Linked DNA regions of Homo sapiens: region 1 is linked to region 2. Evidence: promoter capture Hi-C in human tissues and cell types (Jung and others, 2019). All regions are on one chromosome and are shown on one strand. The core of a region is centred on a gene start or on the middle of the fragment in contact, and the rest is flanking DNA. Distances in the headings are between cores, read along the strand shown.

Evidence for each region. Contacts are between HindIII fragments. The study calls those that stand out against the background at their distance.
Region 1: a contact is called between a fragment that was not itself captured here and the fragment with the promoter of BHMT2 in region 2, in 1 of the 25 tissues and cell types used here (mesendoderm cells).

What each region holds. Positions count from the first base shown.
Region 1 is chr5:78,895,442-78,901,304 of GRCh38, reverse strand. All of the region lies in intron 4 of ARSB (arylsulfatase B), which reads left to right. Among named protein-coding and RNA genes, the nearest start is that of ARSB, 87 kb to the left of the region's middle. RefSeq lists a silencer at 1,147-1,236. The HindIII fragment of the contact is 5,434 bases long and covers 721-5,863 here.
Region 2 is chr5:79,066,381-79,071,823 of GRCh38, reverse strand. It overlaps BHMT2 (betaine--homocysteine S-methyltransferase 2), which reads right to left and starts at 2,057. Exons shown (of 8, transcript NM_017614.5): 1 at 2,009-2,057. The coding sequence starts at 2,041. It overlaps DMGDH (dimethylglycine dehydrogenase), which reads left to right and starts at 2,150. Exons shown (of 16, transcript NM_013391.3): 1 at 2,150-2,304. The coding sequence starts at 2,204. The HindIII fragment of the contact is 19,729 bases long and covers 1-5,443 here.

The DNA of each region.
Region 1 (5,863 bases), core at 2,188-4,687, 170 kb after region 2:
CTCCTGCCTCCAAACATGCCCTAAAGCCTGGAACCTGTGAATATGTTATGTTATATGACAAGGGGAATTAAGATTGCAGACCAAATTAAGGTTTCTGATAAACTGACCTGAAGATGAGGAGATTGTCCTGGATTATCTGGTTGGACCAGTGCAATCGGTGACCTTAAAAGTGGAAGAGGGAGGCAGAAGAGGAGGTCGGGTAATATGATATGAAAAGGATTCAACCATCATTGATGACTTTTTTTTTTTTTTTTTTTCCTGAGACGGAGTCTTGCTCTGTCGCCAGGCTGGAGGGCAGTGGCGCGATCTCGGCTCACTGCAAGCTCTGCCTCCCAGGTCCCGGGTTCACACCATTCTCCTGCCTCAGCCTCCCAAGTAGCTGGCACTACAGGCGCCCGCTACCATGCCCAGCTAATTTTTTTGTATTTTTAGTAGAGACGGGCTTCACTGTGTTAGCCAGGATGGTCTCGATCTCCTGACCTCGTGATCTGCCTCCTTAGGCCTCCCAAAGTGCTGGGATTACAGGCGTGAGCTACTGCGCCCGCCCATTGCTGACTTTGAAGGTGAAGGAAGAGGGCATGAATCAAGGAATGCAGGATTTCAAAATGGTAGTATAGAAGCAAGCCAGCTTCAATCCCTCAATAGAAGACCAAAAACAAATATATAGCATTGAGATTTTCACCAGCAACAACCCAGAGTTCAAGTATGAGGATGAGACAGCCCCCAGGGCCACAGAGAAGTGGAAAAACCTTGAGCATATGATTGGAGAATCAGATTTCCACGTCTGCGAGTCCCCTCCCCTACATTCTTTCAGCACCAAGCATGTGGAAAATCTCCCTCAATTCTGTTTTTACACTGGAAAAAGTGAAATTGAGTGGTCAACCAGCTTCCTCACCTTCTTGGGTTCCGTAGCAGGAGTCCTGTCCCTGCCTTAACTCATGGGAAGCATTGTGAGTGCCTGTAGGGAGAAATATCTCTGAGGACAGGCTGCAACAAAGGTCAGAAGGTGAGACTACCATCCCCAACCCTGGAAACTCTGCTCTGTAACTCAGCCAAATGAGACACCAAATCAGAGTGGCTATTCAGCAGCACCACACTGTAGGAGGTACATTCCACAGGTTCCCATGGGCAGGAACCCCTAGCCAGTCTTCCCACACTGCTGACTAGGGGTTCCTGCCTAGGAGCCTGTAGAACATACCTGGGATAATCCCTTTGGTGACTCCCCCATTTGGGACAGGCAGCACTGCAACCGTTTACTAGAGCCAAAGTGAACCTGGGCTTATAGCGCCACCTAGAGCCGAAAAGGAGGCAGCAATCTAGTTGCAAAGATTAAGCAAATATATTCAATGAAAGACAAAACAAGCTGGACAGAGAAAACTAGAATCAATAATTAATCCTTCAATGCAAAGACATAGACATATACCCGCAAGTAACAACAGCAAACAGGGAACCACAGTCTCCCCAAAGGACAAAGCAAAAATCCAATGACTGACCCTAACGAGATGGCGACTATTAGCTTCTGACCAATAATTTAAAATAGCAGTTTTAAGGAAACTCAGGTATCTCCAAGATAATACAGAAAAGCAGAAATTTATCAGAGAAATCTAACAAAGAGATTGAAATAATTTTAAAAAATCAAACAGAAATCTTAGAACTGAGAAATACATTTGCCAAACTGAAGAACTCTTAAGAGGCTCTGAGCAGCAGAGTGAGCCAAGCAGAGGAAAGAATCTATGAGCTCAAAAACCAGCTGTGTGAAAATACACAATCAGAGAAGAAAAAAGAAATAAGAATAAAATGTAACAAAGACCACCTACAATATGTAAAAAATTACCTCAAAAGACCAAATCTAAGAATTACTGCTGTTGGTGTTCAAGAGAGAGTGAAGCGAGAGCAAGGGGTAGAAAGTTGATTCAAAAGGATAAGAACTGAAAACTTTCCAAAACTTGAGAAAGAGAAATATCCAGCTACAGAAAGGTCAGAGAACACCAAACAGATTTGACCCAAATAAGACTACTCCAAGGCATAGAAAAATGAAACTCTCAAAGGTCAAGGACAAAGAGAGGATCCTAAAAGCAGCAGAGAAAAGAAGCAAATAACACGTAAAGTAGCTCTAATTCATGTGGCAACGGATTACTCTAAGGAAACTAAACAGGCCAGGAGGGAGTGGAATGGCATTTTCAGATTGCTCAAAGAGAGACAAAAAAAGCCTGCCATCCAAGAATATTGTATCCAGCAAAATTATCATTCAAATATAAAGGAGAGATAAAATCTTTCCCAGACAAACAAAAGCTGAGAGAATTCACCACCACTAGATCCATCTTGCAAGAAATACTAAAGGCAGTTCTTCAGTCTGAAAGAAAAAACGCTAATGTGCAAAAGAAAACTTTTCAAAGTATAAAACCTACAGGTAAAATTAAGTACCTGGACAAACTCAGAATACTCTCTTACTGTATTGCTGGTATGCAATCCACTCATAACTCTACTATGAAGCTCAAAAGACATGAGCCAAGGAGTGAAAACAGCCTCTAGAAGCTAGAAAGGCAAGGAAATGGATTTGCTAGAAAGGCAAGGAAATGGAACTTCCAGAAGGGAATGCAGCCCTCTCAACACCTTGACATTAGCCCAGTGAGACCTGCATCAGACTTGTACAGGCCTCAGCAGCTGAATGTATTGTACAGCCTGCAGAACTGTACAATAATAAGTGTGTATTGTTTAAGCTGCTAAGTGTGTGGTAATAGAAAACTAATGTATGTTTTTTTATATAAAGCTAAATTTGATTTCCTAAATATTGTTAAAGATTTTTACACCTGTGTTCATTGTGGTTTTCTTTTTCTGTAATGTCTTTGTTTCATTTTGGTGTCAGAGTAATGCTGGCCTCATAGAATAAGTTGGGAAGTACAGGATTCCTATCTATTTTTTGAAAGAGTTTGTATAGAACTAGTATTATTCCTTTCTTAAATGTTTGGTAGAATTTGCCAATGAAGGCATTTGGGCCTGAAATTTTCTTGGTGAGAAGGTTTTGTTTTGTTTTGTTTTGAGACAGAGCCTCACTCTGTCGCCCAGGCTGGAGTGCAGTGGCACAGTCTCGGCACTGCAACCTTTGCCTCCCGGGTTCAAGCGATTCTCCTGCCTCCGCCTCCTGAGTAGCTTGGATTATAGGTGCCTGCCACCACACCTGGCTAATTTTTGTATTTTTAGTAGAGCCGGGGTTTCTCCATGTTGGCCAGGCTGGTCTCGAACTCCTGGCCTCATGTGATCCATCCACCTCAGCCTCCCAAAGTGCTGGGATTACAGGCGTCAGCCACCGCACCCGGCCTGTGGGGAGGTTTTTAATTACTAATTTCAATGTCTTTAATGGGTATAGGGCATGTACGTTATCTATTTTTTCCTGAATGAACTTAGATTAATCATTTTTGAAGTCTTAGTTGCTAGAAAAAAATATTTAAAAATTGGTGAATTTTCTCATTAAAGCAGCTTTTAGTGCATTTTTGAATATAGTAAATATAAATATTTTATATTTATAGAATATATTTTAGATCTGAAAAATAATTATTATGAGAGTCCACATATTACAAAAATACAAATATTATATCTGAGTCCTTACTTACCAGGAGATCTGATTATAACTTGATTTCCCATACATTTATGCCACTCCCATGGGCCATAAACATGCCAGTCACTGTGATAAATTTACTTTGTAAATCAATTAATTGACTTTGTGATTATATATATATCATTTACAGTGATTCTGCTTCTAAAAAGTGGAACCTCTTTCCATATGCTGTTAGAATTATTTATAAGCTTACAGAGGTTTAGGCCAGACCCCAAACTGTGTTAAATTCACAAGGTAATGAGTGCTAACCTGTGAAGCCTCTTGAAAGAGAGGTCACTACCTATCTCTGGCCATATGTCCCAATCCTGCCATTGTATAGGGCAGTGGTTTTTACTGAGAGTATTTTAGAAATTCACTTGAGTGTTACTGATAGTTAGTGAGTAGGGGGCTCAGGATGCAATGCCCGTAATAACCCCACACAGTGAGGAATTGTCCCAAGTCCTGTACAACTTACAAAATATCCTGCTGGTTAGTCATGAAGATTAAAAGCTTGTTTACAATTTTCTGAGACTAGAACCTAAGTCTAGTCTCTATGTTTTACACATAAACACAAAGTATTTTTTGCGTGGTTTTAATATATAATTAATATTCTAATCTTTATTTTAGCATTTATCCCTGCTCTCTCTTTTTTTTTGTATTTCTACTATAGAATGGCCTTAAGTCCAAATTTATTTCGTCTATAACTGTATGCACTCATCTAACCACTTTGCTATGTCTTTTAGGGTTGAACCTGCGCATTTTCCTATGAAATACATGCTATTTTATTATTAATTGCCTTTTTCTACTCTGTATTACACTGAGAGTTATTTTTTTTAATTAGACATATAGTTACAGTATTGTATATAAATTCCATTTCAGGACAAAGGAGCATCACAAAATATTTGTTATGAAAAGGGTGGGGATGTTAGATTTGAAAAGCCTGAGAGGCATGTTATAGAAACAAACTTTCTTCTGATTTCAGTACTTTTCCTATCATTATAGTTGCTATTACATAAAAATGTAAAGTCTTGGAATGAGTCCATATTACTGCTTCAAAATAACCAAAACAATAAAAATGGATTTAACTTCTATTTCGCCTACAAAATAGCCTAACACAATTATTATATCCATCAAGTCTAGGACATCCAGCCATAGTGCTCACACATATGCATAGTAATCACAAATTTCAGTGCACAAACTTAGATCTGCAAAGAATATAACTTACTTCTTTTTTACCCTGTCACTGAACGCAGTACCTCTGGGGTCCCTATTCTGCTGGGTGGAGGAAACCTGGTTCCAGTCAATTCAGATCATCTCAGTTAATTCATGATCTCATCCTGGCTCCCCTCCAGGGAGCCAGTGCGTTGGAGCTGAAGGAAGTGTGTGGTCCATAGTCATCCTTGCACAAGCCTCTGCAGAAACATTCCTGTTCCTGGCTGGCCTTTTTATATCATCCATCTAGATCATGCTGCGACCTCCTTGCCTGCGGAGACTCTTTGGACCATCTCTGTGCCACATTTGTGCTCTTCTCAACACCAAATCAAAAACATTCATCAGTTCAGCTGCAACCCCTTCCACACTGTGGTGTGAGAAGCCTCTGAGCCTGCCTTCCATCACCTTGTGCAACCATTGTCATCTGCTGCTGCCACACTATACTGGGCACAAGAACCGCAGGGAGTCTTGCTATCCTCTCATCTGCCCCCCGGCTCCTCCAGGGGATGAGGCATGGTTCTTTCCACTCTTGTATCCCTCCGTCCATTATTTCTTCTACACTAGATCCAGTCCTGGGGGCAGAGCCCAAGATGTGTGCTTAAGGTCACAGCCATGTCCTTTAGCTTCGTTTCCAGTCCTCTCTCTTCCCCTGGCTCTGAGTGATTGCTTAAGCTAAATCTATTAGCTCATCCACCTGCTGACTATCCATTTCCGGAGCCCAGACATGGATCTCCCTGCCTGCTTCCTGGGTTGAGGGTCACAGGGTGACAAAATTACTAGGAATGAGAAAAGCTGTTACTTAATATTTGGAAACATCATTCCAGTGGAGATGCAGGGCACATGAGGCATACTGCTTAGCCTGTAATAATTTTCTCTCTTTTCAGTCTATATGCCTAACTTTATGCCAGGATAGTGAAAGTTTTCATGTGCTTATCGTTGTGACCTTTGCAAGGTATCAGGTGAAGAAGGCAGGCACATTGTATTGCTGTAGATAAATAGGATTAATGACAGGAATATGGGATATAAACCTTTTTGCTAGGTCTAAACCATCCTTAA
Region 2 (5,443 bases), core at 808-3,307:
TACTTTTAAGTTCAGGGGTACATGTGCAGGATGTGCAGGTTTGTTACACAGGTAAATGTGCATCATTGGAGGTTTGCTATATGGGTTATTTCCTCACCCAGGTATTAAGCCTAGTATCCATTAGTTATTTTTCCTGATCCTCTCCCTCCTTCCACCCTCCACCCTTCGATAGGCCCCAGTGTGTGTTGTTCCTCACCATTATACTAGTACGATCTAAAGTCAACTGTAAAATTATAAAGACAGGAACATGTAAAATAAGGAACCCTGTAAATTAATTTTGCAGTACATTTATATTTTCATTCCCTCCTCCCCATCAGTTTGGCAGTGAACCTGCCTTGCATCTGACAGCGAGCTCTAGGGTGCATTTATGCCCCCTTTTTGCAGATATCACTACGTAAGACCTCTGGGTTTAAGATCTGGCTTCAAGACATCTCTATTCATACTCAGTGGGGATCAACTTCACTGTGTAGTAGGAGGTGATCAGAAAAACCCAGTCTGTCTAAAATAACTTCCCCTTTTCCTAGATTTGCCAGCAGAACTGCTCTTTTGGATTTAAGACCTAATTGGAGGTCTTGTCTGTGGCAATTAAATGAATTCTTAAAATGTACCTGCTAGCTGAGGAGAGAGGTGAGATTAGTTCCTTCCCATTAACACCTTAACTCCCAGGTACACATTCACATGGATTAGTGTGTGATAATCTTGGTGTTGTAACAGTAGAGGCCCCAAAGACACTGAACAAAAACAGGGCATTTTAAAAACGTTTAAAAATATGAACTGTAAAGATGAACATAGCATTAGAGAAAGTTGAGAGAAAAAAGCACAATGTTCTTTGATTATTTTTATTAACTGTATTCTTTCAATGCTCACATTTTGCTTTTATAACCTGAAAAAATATCCTAAAACATGCTTTTTAAACCAATATTCCACATCTTGTGTAACTATTACCATTATTGTGTCCTTCCTTACAGTGTGTATATAAATATTTGTATATGGTTGGGATCAGTTTGTGATATATTTCCTTTTGCAACTTAACATTGCCAAGGCACTTAGCTGGTTCTCATACTAAGTTATTTAACTGTCTAATAACTTAAGTAGATGAACCTTAATTTATTTAGAATCCCGTATTGCAGAGTATCTTGGTCGTTTCTAACTTTTTAGTATAAATAGCTCGGTGGTGCACATTTCCACGCATAAACTGCCCCTCCTCCCTTCCTCCCATTCTGAATGACAGGGCTGGAGCGGGTGGGGGTCTCTGAAGGGTCCTGGGGATGTCTTTCGTCCAAGCTCATGCCCTTCCTAATTTTGCTTAGTCACTCCTTCATCCCACCCCCACACATACTCGACGTAGAAATGGCTGGGCATAAAGCCAACATCTGGTGACCAGACCAGGAAAGGGGCCAGGAGCTGGGGACCACCGGGTGAGAGGAGGTTGAGGGGTGCTAGCGAATCCCACCTACCCTCCACCCTGCACCGCAGCTCTGGGGGCGTCCTTGCCCAGGACTAGTTTCAGACCAGCCGGCGACTCGCAAGGCCAGGCTGCTTGGCCAGGCTGCTGACTTTTCCAAAACGCGAGGGGACAGTCCGAAGAGTTCCCGGACGGATTAGCCCAAAGAGCTGCGGGCGAGGGTCGGTTGAGGGAAGAAAATGTGTGCGCGACATGCGTCCGAAAGCTAGACTTCTGATCCTCGCTCCCCGCGGGGCTGGACCCGTGACCCTGAGCTAGTCGCCTGACTCGCCGAGCCTCAGTTTCCTCACCTGTGAAATGGGGATAATTGTGAAGATGAGGAGATAACTTGAGCACAGCACTCTGTGCAGCGCCAGGCACCGAGTAAGGGCTCCATAAACGCTAACCAACCCGTGACAGGGGAAAATTGAGGCTCAGGGCCATCCCGTCCAAGTGTTTTGCCGAGGCCCCAGGGCTTGGCTAGGGATGGACGCCGGGTGTGAACGGAGTCGCTCGCAGCCCAGCGGCCAGGAGCTCCGCGAGGATCGAGGGGACGAAACTCACCTTCTTGGCCCCCGGGCGTCCAGCAGGTGCCATGGTGCCGCGGCTCTGTGGGCGCCGGGTTCCCGGGCGCGCGGCCGTCTAGGAGCCCGCCCCCAGCCCGGGGGGAGGATCCGACCCCCGCCCCGCCGGCCCCGCGGCCTCAGGCTGCCCGCTGGCCTCGGAGCAGGCGCCTGCGCCCTCGGCCTCGGCCTAGTCATGCTCCGTCCCGGCGCGCAGCTGCTGCGGGGCCTCCTGCTGCGGAGCTGCCCGCTGCAGGGCTCCCCCGGGCGCCCGCGCTCTGTCTGCGGCCGGGAAGGGTGAGTGGGGCCCCGTCCTGCTCAGAGGCGACGGGGCGGCTGCGGGGGTGGGAGCCAGAGGCTGAGGCAGGCTCAGGGGTTAGGAGCGCTCTGGCCTCCAAGAAATAGGCCTTGATATATCTTCTCGAATTATCTTTTAATTATAAAGTGAAACAGTATCCAAAGGTTCCCCGTGTAAAGTCTCTCCTGCCCCAATCCCCTTGGCCAGTGAACAATTGTTAATAGTGTCTTCTGAATCTAACCAGAGACAGTCTACGCATAGGCAAACACAGGTCAGTATAGGTTTTCCTTTGGCTTTTTGACATCTTGCTTTTTACAATTATCAATATATCTTGGAGATTGTTCCATATCAGCACACACTGACTTGCCTTGTTCCTTTTAATGGCTGCATAGTTTTCCATCCTGTCAATATTCTACACTATCGTTAGTCTATTCATTAACATTTAAATGGTTTTTGGTTGTTTATTACTGCAAATAACGTGCATGTGAAAATTCTTAGGCATCTATCTTTGAGTACATATGGGAGTCGGTAGCAACAGTTTTTAAAGGTGAACTTGTTAGGGAAAAGGTTACGTGCATCTGAAAGATTGAAAGACAGCAACACATTCTCCAAGTGGGTGGCAAGAGTTTGCATGCGGCACACCAGTGTGTGTCTGTTTCCCACATCTTCCCTGGTTCCCAGAATAGCCCATTTTGTTATCTTTGCTAAATCTGATAGGTAAAAATGGCATGTCCTTGTTTTGATTGGTCTGTATTTAAATATGAGCAATGCTGAACATCTTTCGACTTCTTATATTTGTAGATTATTCCTGGTTGCCAGGAAAGGCTTGTTTATCAGCATCACTCAACATTATTATGAGTTGATTCGAATTTTATTTTATGTCCTATGACCTGAAATTCTGGAATCAGAAGACCTGCTTTTGAGTTCCATCTATCCATTCAACAAATATTTACTGGGTGTTGTGATGTGCTAGGTTTGTCTCCAGTACTGGGAATGCAGTAGCCACCAACTCACAGTTCCTGCGCCATCTGTTACACAGAATGTGACCTTACACTTCTGAGGTTCAGTTTCCTCATCTATAAAATGAGGATACTAATTTTGCTCTATATAACTCACAGGATTGCTGTGAATATTAAATAAGAGAATGCATGTGAAAGTGCTTTGTAAATTGTAAAGCAATGCAAAAATATTTATAATAATGATGTTTTTAATCCAGTGCAAAATAAAATGGAAATTTAACAAACAAACTGATTAGATAAATAAGATACAAATTTCAAGACTATCCAAAAAATTCATATTTTGGCTGAGTGTGGTGGCTCATGCCTGTAATCTCAGCACTTTGGGAAGCTGAGGTGGGCAGATTACTTGAGGCCAGGAGTTTGAGACCAGCCTGATCAACATGGTGAAACTCTGTCTCTAATAAAAATGCAAAAATTAACTGGGTGTCATGGTGTGCACCTGTAGTCCAAGCTGCTTGGGAGGCTGAGGCGGGAGAATCGCTTGAACCTGGGAGGCGGAGACTGCAGTGAGAACCGAGATTGCACCACTGCACTCCAGCCTGGGCGACAGGGATTCCATCTCACAAACAAAAACAAAAACACCCAAAAGTTGAGTTATTTCAATTGCATATTCTTTATATACCCAATTTCAAACTATCAAAAAATGTTTTATTTTGGAAAGCAGTTGAACAAGCATACAGTTTGTGCTTATCATTTCTAATACAGAAGATAACTGACCTGGGTTTTTTGCATGGCTCCTAAGTTTTATTTCAAATACTCTTATAAACATCCTCGACTACATTCAGAAGGATTTTAAGATAGTTATCCACATAATCAAAAACACTATACCTAGTCTGAAACCTATTATGGCATGCTGGGCCGAGGAAATACTATATATTTGATAATGCTTTATCATATGTTGCCAAACAGAACCTTCACAGCTCCGTTTTGCAAATGAGAAAACTTTGAGACCCTTGTGTAAATTTCTCTAAAATAGCTGTTCAGTTGGATTGGGGACTCAAACCCAGGTTTCCTGATCTTAAGTTCTCTTTTGTTGTTGTTGTTTCAACTGACCACTGTCCTGAAAGAAATAATTCTTTCTTTTGAACACACAAAAAAGAACCTTTAAGATTATTATTTTTGTCACCACTATAATGGTTTCAACTAAAGTACAAGATATGCCCAGTCTGTTTAAAAATGGATTTCCGTCCAAAGTAGTTGGGTCATATGTACATTATTTTTTTCTCACACAGCATACAAAGAGACATTAATAGTCATCTAAAAACCGGTGAAACAAAACTGCTGAAACATGTTGTGGCACCAGGAAATAAGGACATGCTCTAAGAATTATGTAGCCATGTCAAAAGCATACAGGAGTCAACTGAAAGAACCTCCTGCTGGCCAAATCTAGGACAATTTGGTATTCAAATAAATGATGACTAGTAATGGATTAGAAACCACTGAAAACAATAAATATCCATAAATTCATGTTAATATAAACAACCAACAAACAAGGGTGAAAGAAAATTACTTCCTTACAGTAGAATGCCAACTATTAAATATAATAGGAATGATGGGGTTAGGAAATAATCAATAGATGTTAAAGCCACTCAGTAAAAGTTTGATAAGGACCAGGATATTTACATGGTCTCAAAGTAACACTTCACATTATTACTTATACAAAGGAAAAAATGGTAGCTTTACTAGACAAATCAGACAGACACCACCTTAAGCAAGTCATCAGACAGAAACAACACCAATATCAGGACAAACCAACATCATACGCTTCTTAATCATATACACTGGGAAGGAGTCAACATCAGTTTCATGATGTTTTTGCCAAAAATGCATAACATAAGTCTCATCATGAGGAAACACCAGACAAACTCACAGTAAGAACTGTTCTATAAAATAACTGGCTAGTACTGGCCGGGCGTGGTGGCTCACACCTGTAATCACAGCACTTTGGGAGGCTGAGGCAGGCGGATCACGAGGTCAGGAGATCAAGACCATCCCGGTTAGCATGGAGAAACCCCGTCTCTACTAAAAATACAAAAAAAAAAAAAAATTAGCCGGGCGTGGTGGTGGGCGCCTGCAGTCCCAGCTACTTGGGAGGCTGAGGCAGGAGAATGGCATGAAC